Regions from separate parts of the Homo sapiens genome. Here regions 2, 3 and 4 are each linked to region 1. The links are contacts of gene promoters, found by promoter capture Hi-C in human tissues and cell types (Jung and others, 2019). All regions are on one chromosome and are shown on one strand. The core of a region is centred on a gene start or on the middle of the fragment in contact, and the rest is flanking DNA. Distances in the headings are between cores, read along the strand shown. Region 1 holds the start of SLC32A1 (solute carrier family 32 member 1). Region 2 overlaps DHX35 (DEAH-box helicase 35). Region 3 overlaps FAM83D (family with sequence similarity 83 member D). Region 4 overlaps PPP1R16B (protein phosphatase 1 regulatory subunit 16B).

Evidence for each region. Contacts are between HindIII fragments. The study calls those that stand out against the background at their distance.
Region 2: a contact is called between a fragment that was not itself captured here and the fragment with the promoter of SLC32A1 in region 1, in 1 of the 25 tissues and cell types used here (dorsolateral prefrontal cortex).
Region 3: a fragment that was not itself captured here is called in contact with the fragment with the promoter of SLC32A1 in region 1 in 2 of the 25 tissues and cell types used here (dorsolateral prefrontal cortex and mesendoderm cells).
Region 4: a contact is called between a fragment that was not itself captured here and the fragment with the promoter of SLC32A1 in region 1, in 1 of the 25 tissues and cell types used here (lymphoblastoid cells).

Annotation. Positions count from the first base shown.
Region 1 is chr20:38,723,047-38,725,892 of GRCh38, forward strand. It overlaps SLC32A1 (solute carrier family 32 member 1), which reads left to right and starts at 1,440. Exons shown (of 2, transcript NM_080552.3): 1 at 1,440-2,068. The coding sequence starts at 1,679. The HindIII fragment of the contact is 7,924 bases long and covers 1-2,846 here.
Region 2 is chr20:38,965,711-38,968,556 of GRCh38, forward strand. The region is part of intron 1 of DHX35 (DEAH-box helicase 35); the gene reads left to right. Among named protein-coding and RNA genes, the nearest start is that of DHX35, 4.8 kb to the left of the region's middle. The HindIII fragment of the contact is 5,080 bases long and covers 1-2,846 here.
Region 3 is chr20:38,946,966-38,949,811 of GRCh38, forward strand. FAM83D (family with sequence similarity 83 member D) reads left to right here. Exons shown (of 4, transcript NM_030919.3): 3 at 911-1,035. Among named protein-coding and RNA genes, the nearest start is that of DHX35, 14 kb to the right of the region's middle. The HindIII fragment of the contact is 4,328 bases long and covers 1-2,846 here.
Region 4 is chr20:38,869,591-38,872,436 of GRCh38, forward strand. The region is part of intron 2 of PPP1R16B (protein phosphatase 1 regulatory subunit 16B); the gene reads left to right. Among named protein-coding and RNA genes, the nearest start is that of FAM83D, 55 kb to the right of the region's middle. RefSeq lists enhancers at 881-1,451, 1,580-1,639, 1,660-1,749. The HindIII fragment of the contact is 7,641 bases long and covers 1-2,846 here.

The DNA of each region.
Region 1 (2,846 bases), core at 190-2,689:
GCCCCCGCCCCCACTTCCAGTCACAGCCGCTACTTCTCCATTCAGGCTGGGACTGCCAGGTGGAGCCCTGCGGTTTACTGCTCAGGAGGAGCCCGGCCAGGACATCAGCTGGGGACTTACGCAGGGACCCATTCAGAGCAGCGGACCCTCACGGAGACTACTACAAAGGGACTAACACAGGCACGAACGCAGGCAACCCCATTCGGGAACACATACGTAATCCAACACACTAGCTCTGGCACACACACTGGAATGCGCGCAAAACCACACAGACACAGAACACACGCGGTTACCAAACCTCATTCTCAGAGGCCACACTGATCCAACCTCAAGCAGAGTCTGATACAGCATCGGTCTTTGTCTCTGGGTCTCTCCCTTACTCGCGCTCACACACCCGTACCCCAATCAACACAAACAGCCCAAGCTTTCACAGCCTGGAGGCGGCCGTCGGAGCAGGGCCCCAGCGCACCGCGAGCCTCTGCTTCCTCCGCCTTGCAGCGCCGCGAGCCCTTCTTTCCTCCGCGCCTGGCCCCGTCTGCGCCCCTCTCGGCGTGGGCATTCGCAGACCCGCTAGGAGGCTGACGAGAGGTGTCCTCATAGAGTCCTGCCTTCTTCCAGACCCCCAAACGAAAAGAAAGAGAAAAGCCAACCTTTCGCCTCCATTCTGCACGCATTTGGAGAGCGGCTGGTGGCGAGCGATCCGCACAATCGCTTCCCTCGCGGCGTCCCTGGACGGGCGGAGAGAACCCGGGTGACTGAGCCTGAGGCTGAGCTTCCTTGGGAGCGATCCATGCCAGCCACTTCTACCTTCAAGGGGGACTCGCGGCCGGGTTTACGCGCGAAGGATGGGTGCCAGGGAAACTGACTTATAGACGACCCGCTCCGCGAGAGACTGACAACTCAGTCCTGCGGGCTTTCGGGGCGCCCAGACCAGTCCTTAGCCAGAGGATCTGGGGCTGCACAGCTCCCGGACCCTGGAGGGGGTGGTCCGGGGGTGGGAGACTGCGAGCATCAGCCCACGCCGGCCCCCTCCCACCCTGCGGCGGCGAGGTGGGAAGGGCCAGGATGCGAGCTTAGCACCTCCCCTAGAAATGCAGCACTTCGCCCCCCCACCTCCCCTGCCCTCGGCGCTCCCTCTTTCACGCGCTCCCTCCCGCCTCCTTCCCAAGGGCGCCCTTCTTCTGCCCCCAGCTCACGTCTGAATCCCTCGGCGCCCCCTTTCTCTTCTCCTAGCCCCTTCCTCACGTCCCCTGCCTCCGGGTATTTCCTCTCTCCAATCCCCCACCCCCGCACCGCCTGATTCCGAGGGGCGGGAGCGCATTGGGCTGCGCACGGGTGGGGGCGCCGCGCCAGCTTCGCGTAGCTGCTCTGACGCCGCTGCCGCCGCCGCCGCCGCCGCCGCCCTCCGCAGCCCAGCTCGCGCCCCGCGGCAGCTCCGCAGTGCACTAGCCACCACCGCCGCCGCCGCCGCTCCGCCAGACCTGCTGCCAGCTTGCCCGGTCCAGCCCTGAGAGAGCCTCGAACGCCAGCTGCGAGGGTCATGAGCCAGAGAGCCCCGGGGCGCCGCGCGGAGAGCAAGCGGAGATAGCGACTTTGCGCCCCCCAGCCCTCGCCTTCTTGCATCGCGTTCCCCGCATCCTCGGGTCCTTCTGTCCTTTCCGCTGTCCCCACCGCCGCCATGGCCACCTTGCTCCGCAGCAAGCTGTCCAACGTGGCCACGTCCGTGTCCAACAAGTCCCAGGCCAAGATGAGCGGCATGTTCGCCAGGATGGGTTTTCAGGCGGCCACGGATGAGGAGGCGGTGGGCTTCGCGCATTGCGACGACCTCGACTTTGAGCACCGCCAGGGCCTGCAGATGGACATCCTGAAAGCCGAGGGAGAGCCCTGCGGGGACGAGGGCGCTGAAGCGCCCGTCGAGGGAGACATCCATTATCAGCGAGGCAGCGGAGCTCCTCTGCCGCCCTCCGGCTCCAAGGACCAGGTGGGAGGTGGTGGCGAATTCGGGGGCCACGACAAGCCCAAAATCACGGCGTGGGAGGCAGGCTGGAACGTGACCAACGCCATCCAGGTAAGCGCGGGATTCCCAGTTCTGCCTGTCCTCCCCCCTCCCAGCTCAGCGTGCCGGGCTCTGCCCCCGACAGTCGCCCGGTGATCTCGGCCTGGAGACCCCCTCCTGTACCCAGGAATCTCCCTTTCTCCATCCCTCCCAGCCCTGCGCGGGGACCTACGCCCCCAGGCGGTGTTTTCCGCCCTAACCCACGCTCCCTCCCAACGGCACCAGCTGCAAGACCGCTAGGCTGAAGTTCGGTCTGAGACACCTGTCCGGAGACACTGCAAAAGTGAAGGAAATGGGGGGAGGGAGCAGGAAGCGATGAGAAAGAAAGAAAATCAGGATTGGAGGGCACGGTTTGGTCTTGGACTCTGGAACGGATTCACAGCTGCATTTTTGGGAGGAAAGAAGAAGGGGAAATCGCTGAGGTCGGAGTCTCCTCCCCCCGCACACACGCATAGACACGCACACGTATATAGGCAGGCACACCACATGCCCACAGCCCCCCTTCCCACGAACAAAGGCGCAGGCACAGGCGCACACGACATGTATCTATATATAGACCACAGTACTATCCCCAAATGCACCTGCGTACACCCCTACAGCTCCACAAACAAAAGCATATACCTGCACATACCAAACACACGAATATTCGTTTGAACATATGCACACACACATGCACAGATGCATGCAGACAGGAACCAGCCTGCTCCCTTGGGTGCGGCCCTGTTGGAGACATACAGGTATACACACACGAAAGCACACACATGCTCCCACACAAACACATTTAGTCCGC
Region 2 (2,846 bases), core at 227-2,726, 240 kb after region 1:
CATGTCTGGGTACCTTAAGATACCCATTTGTGGTGTCTACCTTAGGAGTGTGACTTAAGGGCCTTGTATGACCTGCCTGAGAGTTTTCTACAAAAATCTTTTACTTAATTTGCAAGTACACGTGGATCCGAAGGGCCTGCCCATTTTCGTTTGCTCATTTGATAAATATTTCATGATTGTTGACCATGTGCATGACGAAAACTTTACAATAGGTTTTAAGCTTTTTTTGACTTGACCCACAGTAAGATATAGCACACATACACAACTGAAGAAAAAGTTGTTCATAAACAGTATTGCTTTCTGGAATGTGCTCTGATGCTTTCTATTCTATTTCATTATTTAAAAAGTGCTGGTATGACATACTACATTGATTTCATAACCCACTAATGGGTCACCAGTAAAATTTTTAAAAACCAAGTTAAAGGGAATGAGGAATTAGGGATATCAGCCTTGTTAAGATAGGGAAATGAAGATGTTCATAGTTTGCAAAAGTTATAAAGTTGTTACTCCCTTAAGCATAGAGCGTACGCTCAAGGAAAAATCAATCATAGGCAGCCACAGAGGGGTGTTTATAGAGGGAAAGCAGCCCTGATGTTCTGGTTTGGTTGAAGGAAGTCTTTTATGAGGAGAAGGTATACTGTTTATCAACTGACATAGCTGTTCTTATAAAAGAGCTCAGCTGGGCGTGGTGGCTCATGCCTATAATCCTAGCACTTCGGGAGGTCGAGGTGGGTGGATCACCAGAGGTCAGAAGTTCGACACCAGCCTGGCTAACATGGTGTGACCCTGTCTCTACTAAAAATACAAAATGAGCTGGGTGCGGTGGTGCGTGCCTGTAATCCCAGCTACTCGGGATGCCCAGGCAGGAGAGTCGCTTGAACCTGGAAGGCGGAGGTTGCAGTGAGCTGGCATCTCGCCACTGCACTCCAGCCTGAGCAACAGAGACTCCATCTCCAAAAACAAAAGCTGATAATAGAAGAGATAGATTGGGGCTGTAGGTTAGAGACAAGGGAGGAATACGGTAGTACAAAAGACATGTTAAAATATTCCAGAGAGGATATGAAGGTTTAAAACATGATTTGAAAAGGCAGGAATTCAGGACAAAAACACAGCAGAAAAGGATAAGGTATTCTTTGTCATTGTTTTCTTGAGTAACAATTACAAGGAATTATTAAGATGTAGTGACAAGAAGGGAAGGAAAGAAAGCCTGTCTCTTTGAGGACAGGCATTGTTCCAGGTCCTGTTCCATCTTTTGTCTTGTTGAAAGGAAGGTCAACATTTTGGCAAAAGCAACATGACAGTGCCCCACTTACCTGATTTTTGGCCATCTTGAACCTCTGAAACACAACTCTGTTCCTGGAAGTAAATGGAAAAGGGTCAGAGATCTAAAGCAGTGATTCTAAACTTAGCTCTAGGGGGTCTACGGACCCCCCCGAATTTTATATTCTGGTAAATTCTGGTGTGTTTTTTAGGAGAGGGAGTTCATAGCCTTTATCAGATTGTTGAAGCAATCTGAGAACCCTAAAAAGTGTAAAAGTAAGTCACTGAGCTGAATATTCTTGTTACAAAGCTCCTGTGCTTTCACTTAGCATCACAGATTCTGAGTTCAGAAGACCTAGGAGATGATGGTTATTGGTTATTATCACTGTAGTGCCCCAGCAGGAGGCTGTATAGCATGTGTTTGATCTAGGGAGGATTTTTATTCATTTACAAGGCAGCAAACTCCAGTGCTGAAAAGTGTGACCTTTTGGAAATATCTTCCTTACATTGAGTTGAATTCTGAACCCTGTGTCATTTACTTATTACTCCTAGTTCTGTCCTAGAGTTACAGCAGCAAATCAGCATGAAAAGTTATGGAAGCTGCTCACAAAATTTAAAGTTATGTTTCTCCTGAGTTGTTTTTCTGTTTGAGCTAAAACTGTATGGAACCTTCAACAGGTTTTCATGATGGGATATGGCTTCCCTATTCTTCACCATCATGATCACCAGTTTGTCATTGTTATTAGCAAGAAGCCGGGGTGAAGATCTCTTGTTTAATCTGCCCAGCATGGCGGTTACTGAGAATAGCATTTCCCATCTATCCACTCCCGATTCCATGGTTCCAATGGGGACTGTCATTTACCTCATCCCATTCCACTGGCCATGGTTGATTGTATTGGGGTGGGGATTGGACCTAAGCTGGGAGAAGTCAGTCCCTGTCTGTCCAGTATAAAAGAGCCTCCCCCACCCCCCATTACAACACATACCTGGGACTCCCAGTCCCCCTTACGTTGTCTTTATTTCTCTCCATAGCACTTATGACCACTTCATGCACCAAGTTACTTTCCACTGAGAGGAAGAATTAAAAAAGCAAGTGAGCTCCGTGAGGGTAGGGCTGGCATCTGTATTGTTCACTGCAGTGTTTCTAGTGCTTAGAGTGGTACGTGACATGGAGTGGGCCCTTGGTCCATCCTTGCTGGTCCTTGCTGGACCACGATGAATGATTGGTAGAGGAGTTGTAAGCGTGAACCCTGGCACTGCCGGCAGCCGTCTTTCCAGCTCCTGTACAGTAGCCAACCTAAGGGGCTGGAAGGAACCTGCAAGACGTGCCAAGATGAGAGAAGGAGAAAGCCATGGCTGCTTTGAGTGCCCAGTTTCTGTCATCTCTGAGCCTTATTGCCATCCTACAGTAACAAGATTCATCCTTTTACCTCAGCTAATTCCCACTGGGTTTCTTTCACTTCTGTTAAGAATTCAGTAATAACATGGACATGGAGGCCAGAAGTAAAGACACTGTGCTCTGTAATACACAGTTCTGAGTGGCCAATTTGGAGCCCAGTGGGACTGCCATCTCGTTTCTTTTTTCT
Region 3 (2,846 bases), core at 100-2,599, 220 kb after region 1:
TAGTCCTTGAAGGTAAGGAGCATGCCTTACATCTCTGTTGTCTCACGGCTTGGCACATAGTAGGGGCTCTCTATGTTTATGGAATCAATGAGTCAAACAAAAATCTTACACGTTTAATTTAAATGTGTAAGATTTCTAACGATATAGAGCCACTGGTCTGCTCCAGAGAATGCAGATTGTTGTAGTATTTTGTATGCCATTGTTTATACATTTATGTGTGTCATTTTACAGGAATAATTATGCATACATGTGCAGTATATTGCCCCAGCATACCACTACCAGTGTACGTTTTTGGTAATTATGTATTTGTAGGAGATGTGACATTGCTTGTTAAGCCACATGTGATATGAGTGTTTCTGCCTCAGCAGGCCTGTACTAGAGAAGGCCTGTCCTGTGTTCCTATTCTCCATACCCATTATGGTGTTGAGGGTGAGTGAGGATGGACTGTTACTCTAATGTGATGCCATTAAACAAACAAGTTGGAGGAAGATCAGCTTACCTTCTTTCAGACTTTGCTAAAATGTTCTTTATTACTAGCATGTTTTCTTTGATGATTTTATCCCACACATTTTGCTTCAGAATCATTTCTTGGATTCTGTTGTTTAGTATCCCAAAAAGGTTGAGTGTTCTTTTAGAACACATACACGCATGAACTAAGGGTCTCAAAAGTAAATATAAGAAAAGAACAGATGAGAAGATGGACCAAATGTAGAAGTAACATCACTTGAGGCTTGAGAACTGTCTGGCTAGTGTACCATGTATACTGTCACTAAATGGTGACCCTAAGCCACGCATATGCCAATAATTATATCTGGGAATTGTAAACTAAGGCTTTTTGTCCTAACCATTTGCTCAGCAGATGAGTATTGCTGAATTGTTCATTTATATTTCTCCCACTCCCTGCCAACAGTTAATGACAGTTCGGACTATCACAGGAAATATCTACTATGCAAGGTCAGGAACTAAGATTATTGGGAAGGTTCACGAAAAGTTCACGTTGATTGATGGCATCCGCGTGGCAACAGGCTCCTACAGGTAAGTCTCTAACCCGTCCAAGGCTTATTAATCTAAACTCTTCAGAAGAAGCATGTCATGTAAAGGTAAAAGCCTTTTCCTCTCAATGGGAGCCTGTATGGCCATGCATTCTGATATGCGTGCATCTGTGTATAGCAGCTGGTTATCAAAGCCTCCTGTTAGAGGCAGTTTGGGTGGGGGTCACTTCCCCTGTCCTGTAGTCCATAGATTAAAATGCAGAAGTTGAACTTGTATTGAGACAACACAGTCAGCAAGTCCTAGATTTCAAGCCTTGGCCCAGGTCTGCAGGGGACGAACTGGGGGTTAACAGCAACACACAGTCTGGAATCCTGGTTCCTTAGGGATCTGGACCCAGCTTGCCCTGCTCACTTGAAGGTAGGGGCAGTTGCAGGCATCTCCATTAGTGTTGAAGGCAGAGCCAGAGCTGTCAGCTTTAGACTCAAATCCTCCACGTTGCTTCAAGCCTTGTAATTTAGAGCTTTAGTCTAGAAAATACTGATTATGTTTCTGACCCACCTTTGAAGTGTCACATTGGCAATGGCATCTTAAGGTAGAGAGCAGGAAGGTTGAAGAGAGGGTGGGGATAATGAGCGGTTTACATGAATCTCTAGAATTTGTGCCATTTGTACATATGTGGCTCCAATGGTTGTATGTTCTGCCGCCTCTGCGGTAGATTGTCTGATGGTTTGCATGAGGTGTGTCTGTAGAATTTTAAAAAGAAAACCCCATTTTTGAAGAAACACACAACCCTGAGTGATAATTACGTGTCAGCCCTGGGTAAAGGTAGAAATGTGAAGGCTTGTGGAAAATGAGGCAGTAAGATCAAGAAAATCTTGACACCTTTCTTTTTCAACAGTACCCTCATTGCTCAGAACAAAATTTGAACTTTCTTCACCAAAGAGGCTGTGGGAAAAAACAAATTGAACTCTTTTTCTTGGAATTTCCTTTTGTAAGAAGTTTATTAAAAAAATTTGTTTTTAACCTAAGTAGGATTTATCTATATTAACCAAACTTAGCTACAAATGGACTTTTGCTGTTCTAAAATATAAAAACTACCCTCTCCAAATGAAATTGATGACGATGATAGCTTCCATTTGTTGAGGAGGTTTTATAATCTTGGTGTTGGATAGGTGCTTTATTTACATTATCTCATTGAAGGCTTTCTTTTTTTTTTTTTTCGTGATGGAGTCTTGCTCTGTTGCTCAGGCTGGAGTGCAGTGGCGCCATCTTAGCTCATTTCAACTTCTGCCTCTCAGATTCAAGCGATTCCTGTGCCTCAGCCTCCCGAGTAGCTGGGACTACAGGCATGCCACCATGACTGGCTAATTTTTGTATTTTTAGTAGAGATGGTGTTTCGCCACGTTGGCCAGGATGGTCTCAGACTCCTGACCTCAGGTGATCCGCTGGCCTCGGCCTACCAAAGTGCTGGGGTTACAGGTGTGAGCCACTGCGCCCGGCCCAGCCTCATTGAAGGCTTTCAAAAGAATCTTCCTTCTCAGGCTTTGAAGGCAGTTTTCAGGGGGACTTTGCATTAGCCATATCTTGGTTACAGGAGACAGAGTTGACTGTGTTCTATGATCTCTGTTTGAAACCTACTTCTGGTACAAATACCACCATTAGTGGGGTGATGGCAAGTGTCAGCTAACTCTCAAACGTACTGACTCGAAGAACCCGGAAGGAAGCATAGAAAGGTACAGTTGGTTTTCAGTTCATCTTGACGTAGGAGCCACACGCTGATCAGAACACTATATCCTGGTTCTGATGTTTTCGAGTTGACTTTTGTTCTTAGGCAGGCTCTCCCTTTGAAGTCA
Region 4 (2,846 bases), core at 259-2,758, 150 kb after region 1:
AAAGAAATTATAGTCATTTTAGTGGGTGTGAAGTATATTGTTAGTTTGCTTTTTCTGGAAAGTCATGCAAGTGGAATCACATAGTATGGACCCTGTGTGAGCCTTCATTTGCTCAACTTATATGCGAAGATTTTTTAGATGTGTGGTTTGAGGGCCTGGAAAGTCATGTCCTGGCCTATGGAATATATTAAAGGGGAAGATAGGATTCCTTAAGGCAAAAGTGGCAGTTCATTAACCCCCTCCCCTGCAAATCCCTGCCCCACCCCCATCCCGCTGCCACATAAAGATGGACCTGTCTGCCTGCCTTCACTGCAGAGCAAAAATTTTATTTATTTATTTTTTTTTTTTTTTAAGACACGGTCTCTCTCTGTCGCCCAGGCTGGAACACAGTGACGCGATCCCAGCTCACTGCAACCTCCACCTCCTGGGTTCAAGCAATTCTCCTTCCTCAGCCTCCTGAGTAGCTGGGATTACAGGTGCCCACCAACATGCCTGACTAATTTTTGTATTTTTAGTAGAGATGGGGTCTCACCATGTTGGCCAGGCTGGTCTTGAATTCCTGACCTCAAGTGATTCACCTCAAGTGATCCACCCGCCTTGGCCTCCCAAAGTGCTGGGATTACAGGTGTGAGCAACCACGCCCGGCCTGCAGAGCAAAAATTTATTGAGCACCTGTGGTGTGCCAGGACTCATTTATAAGTAAATAGAAAAGGTCCCTGTCCTTGTAGGGTTTATAAACTATAGGGGGAAACTACAAGTCCACATACACATAACCTACCATTTAAAAGTCTGACTAAATGCTGTGAAGGAGTAAGCAAGGTGCTTTGATAGGGAACAGAGGGACAGTGTGTGTATAGGAAGGCCAGTCAGGTGGGTCCCTCTGAGGAGGTGACACTTAAGAGACCTGAAGGATGAGAACTGAGCCAGCCATGCAGAAGGATGGGGAGGCTGGGCTAGAGGAGAGTGTTCTAGGCAGAACAAAATAGCACAAGCAGGGGCCCTGGGGCAGTGAAAGCCTCTGGTGGTTCAGTGCAAAGTTAGGAAGGTGTGAAACAGTGGGAAGGGAAGGGACAGGGATGCTCCTGCTGGCTGATGGCCCATACTGTAGGGGCCACAACTTTGTCTTAGCTGCAAGCAGGACCGGAGACATGAAGGGCCAGACTCTGGGCCAATTTCCTTGCTGCGTTCTCAGCTCCAAGAGGCAGCTCGGCTGGGATATTGTGGCTCATTCTAGTGTCTTGCAGCCTCTCAAACTGGAGGGCTGGAGGGTTGGGGCGTGGTTAGTGGCAGCTGTGACGGAGACTTATCAGGAAGCAGGCATGTAATTCCTGCAGTGATTCACACCCAGTCCCCAGTTTACTGCAGTCCTGCAGTGATTCACACCTGGGCCCCAGTTTACCGCAGCTGCACCTTTAAACAGGGCTCGGATGCCTGCATCTCCCTGACCCGTGTGTACCCTCATCATCCCAGGACCTCGGAGGTGTGGGTGAGGCAGCACATAGCTCAGCCTGGTGCCCTCCTCTCACTAGAGAGCTTGACCCTAAAGCCGCAAGCTCAAGCCCACGCCCTGGCCAACCTCCTGGAGCTTTGAGAACAAGGTGTCCTGTACACAGAGTCCTGGCCCCAGTACCTGAGCGCACATGAACCCCGTATGCAAGAAGAAAACTGACCCCAGCCCCATGTTACATAAGAACATCTTTGGAATTTGGCTCCTTTTGAAATGAAATGGGAAACCTGCACTCAAACAAGCAGGTATGGGGAATTCAATAGGAGGCAAATGCCCTCAGGGTCACCTCTGGGCCAGTATGCATTCTGAGGATTGGTTTATTCATTCAGCAAACATTGTGGACACCTGCTTTGTGCCAAGCTTCATGGAGGGATACAAGAACAGATGTTCAATCAATGTCTGTGGGAAGAAGGAGAGAGAAGGGGGATGAAAGGGAAGGATTGAGAAGGAGGAGTGTAGGGAGGTAGAGAGTAAGGAAGAGAGGAACGAAGGGAGGGAGGGAGGGAGGGAAGGAAGGAGGGAGGGAAGGAAGGAAGGAGGGAGGCAAAGAAAGGGGAAGGGAGGGAGGGAGGGAAGGAAGGAGGGAGGGAGGGAAAGAAAGGGGAAGGAACAGAGGGAGGGACGGAGGGAAGATAAATGGGCAGAGATACCCTCACAGAGCTCATCGTCATGTGACTGTGGGTGCAGGTGTGCCCATGGTAATGTAACTAAGTATTTACAATCTAGCTCAGCTCTGATCAATGGAAAAATAATGTAAGCCACATATGTAATTTTAAATGTTCTAATAGTTCCAGTAAAGCAGGCAAGGAACAGGTGAAATTAATTTGAATAATTATTTAACTCAACATTATTTCAATATGTATTTAGTATAAAAATATTAATGGGTATGTTACATATCTTTTTCACACTAAATCTTCAAGGTCACCCCTAGCACGTCTCAATCTGGATTATGCACATTTCAAGTGCTCCCCAGCCCTGGACACCGTGGAGGGTGGCAGGCACTCTGACTGAGGTGCACAGAGCCTGCTGAGGGCACTTAAGTCAGAGTCAAGGAAGACTTCACCGGGTGGTGCCTTCAGTCATTTAATCATTTGCTCACTTACTGTTCACCTAATGTTTATTGAATGCCTCCTGCACTGGGTGTGACGGCTGGGCAGAGACTCTGCTTGGAGGAAGGAGGGAAGGGCATTCCAGACTAGGGAAGCAGATTGCAAGCTCTGAGAGGGCAGACTGGCGTCTGTCTGGTTCACTGCTGTAGCCCTGCACCTGGTGCAGAGTTGGTGCCTGGCGAACATTTGCGGAGCGGGAAAGGAGGGAGAGAGGAGTTGGGCATTTCTAG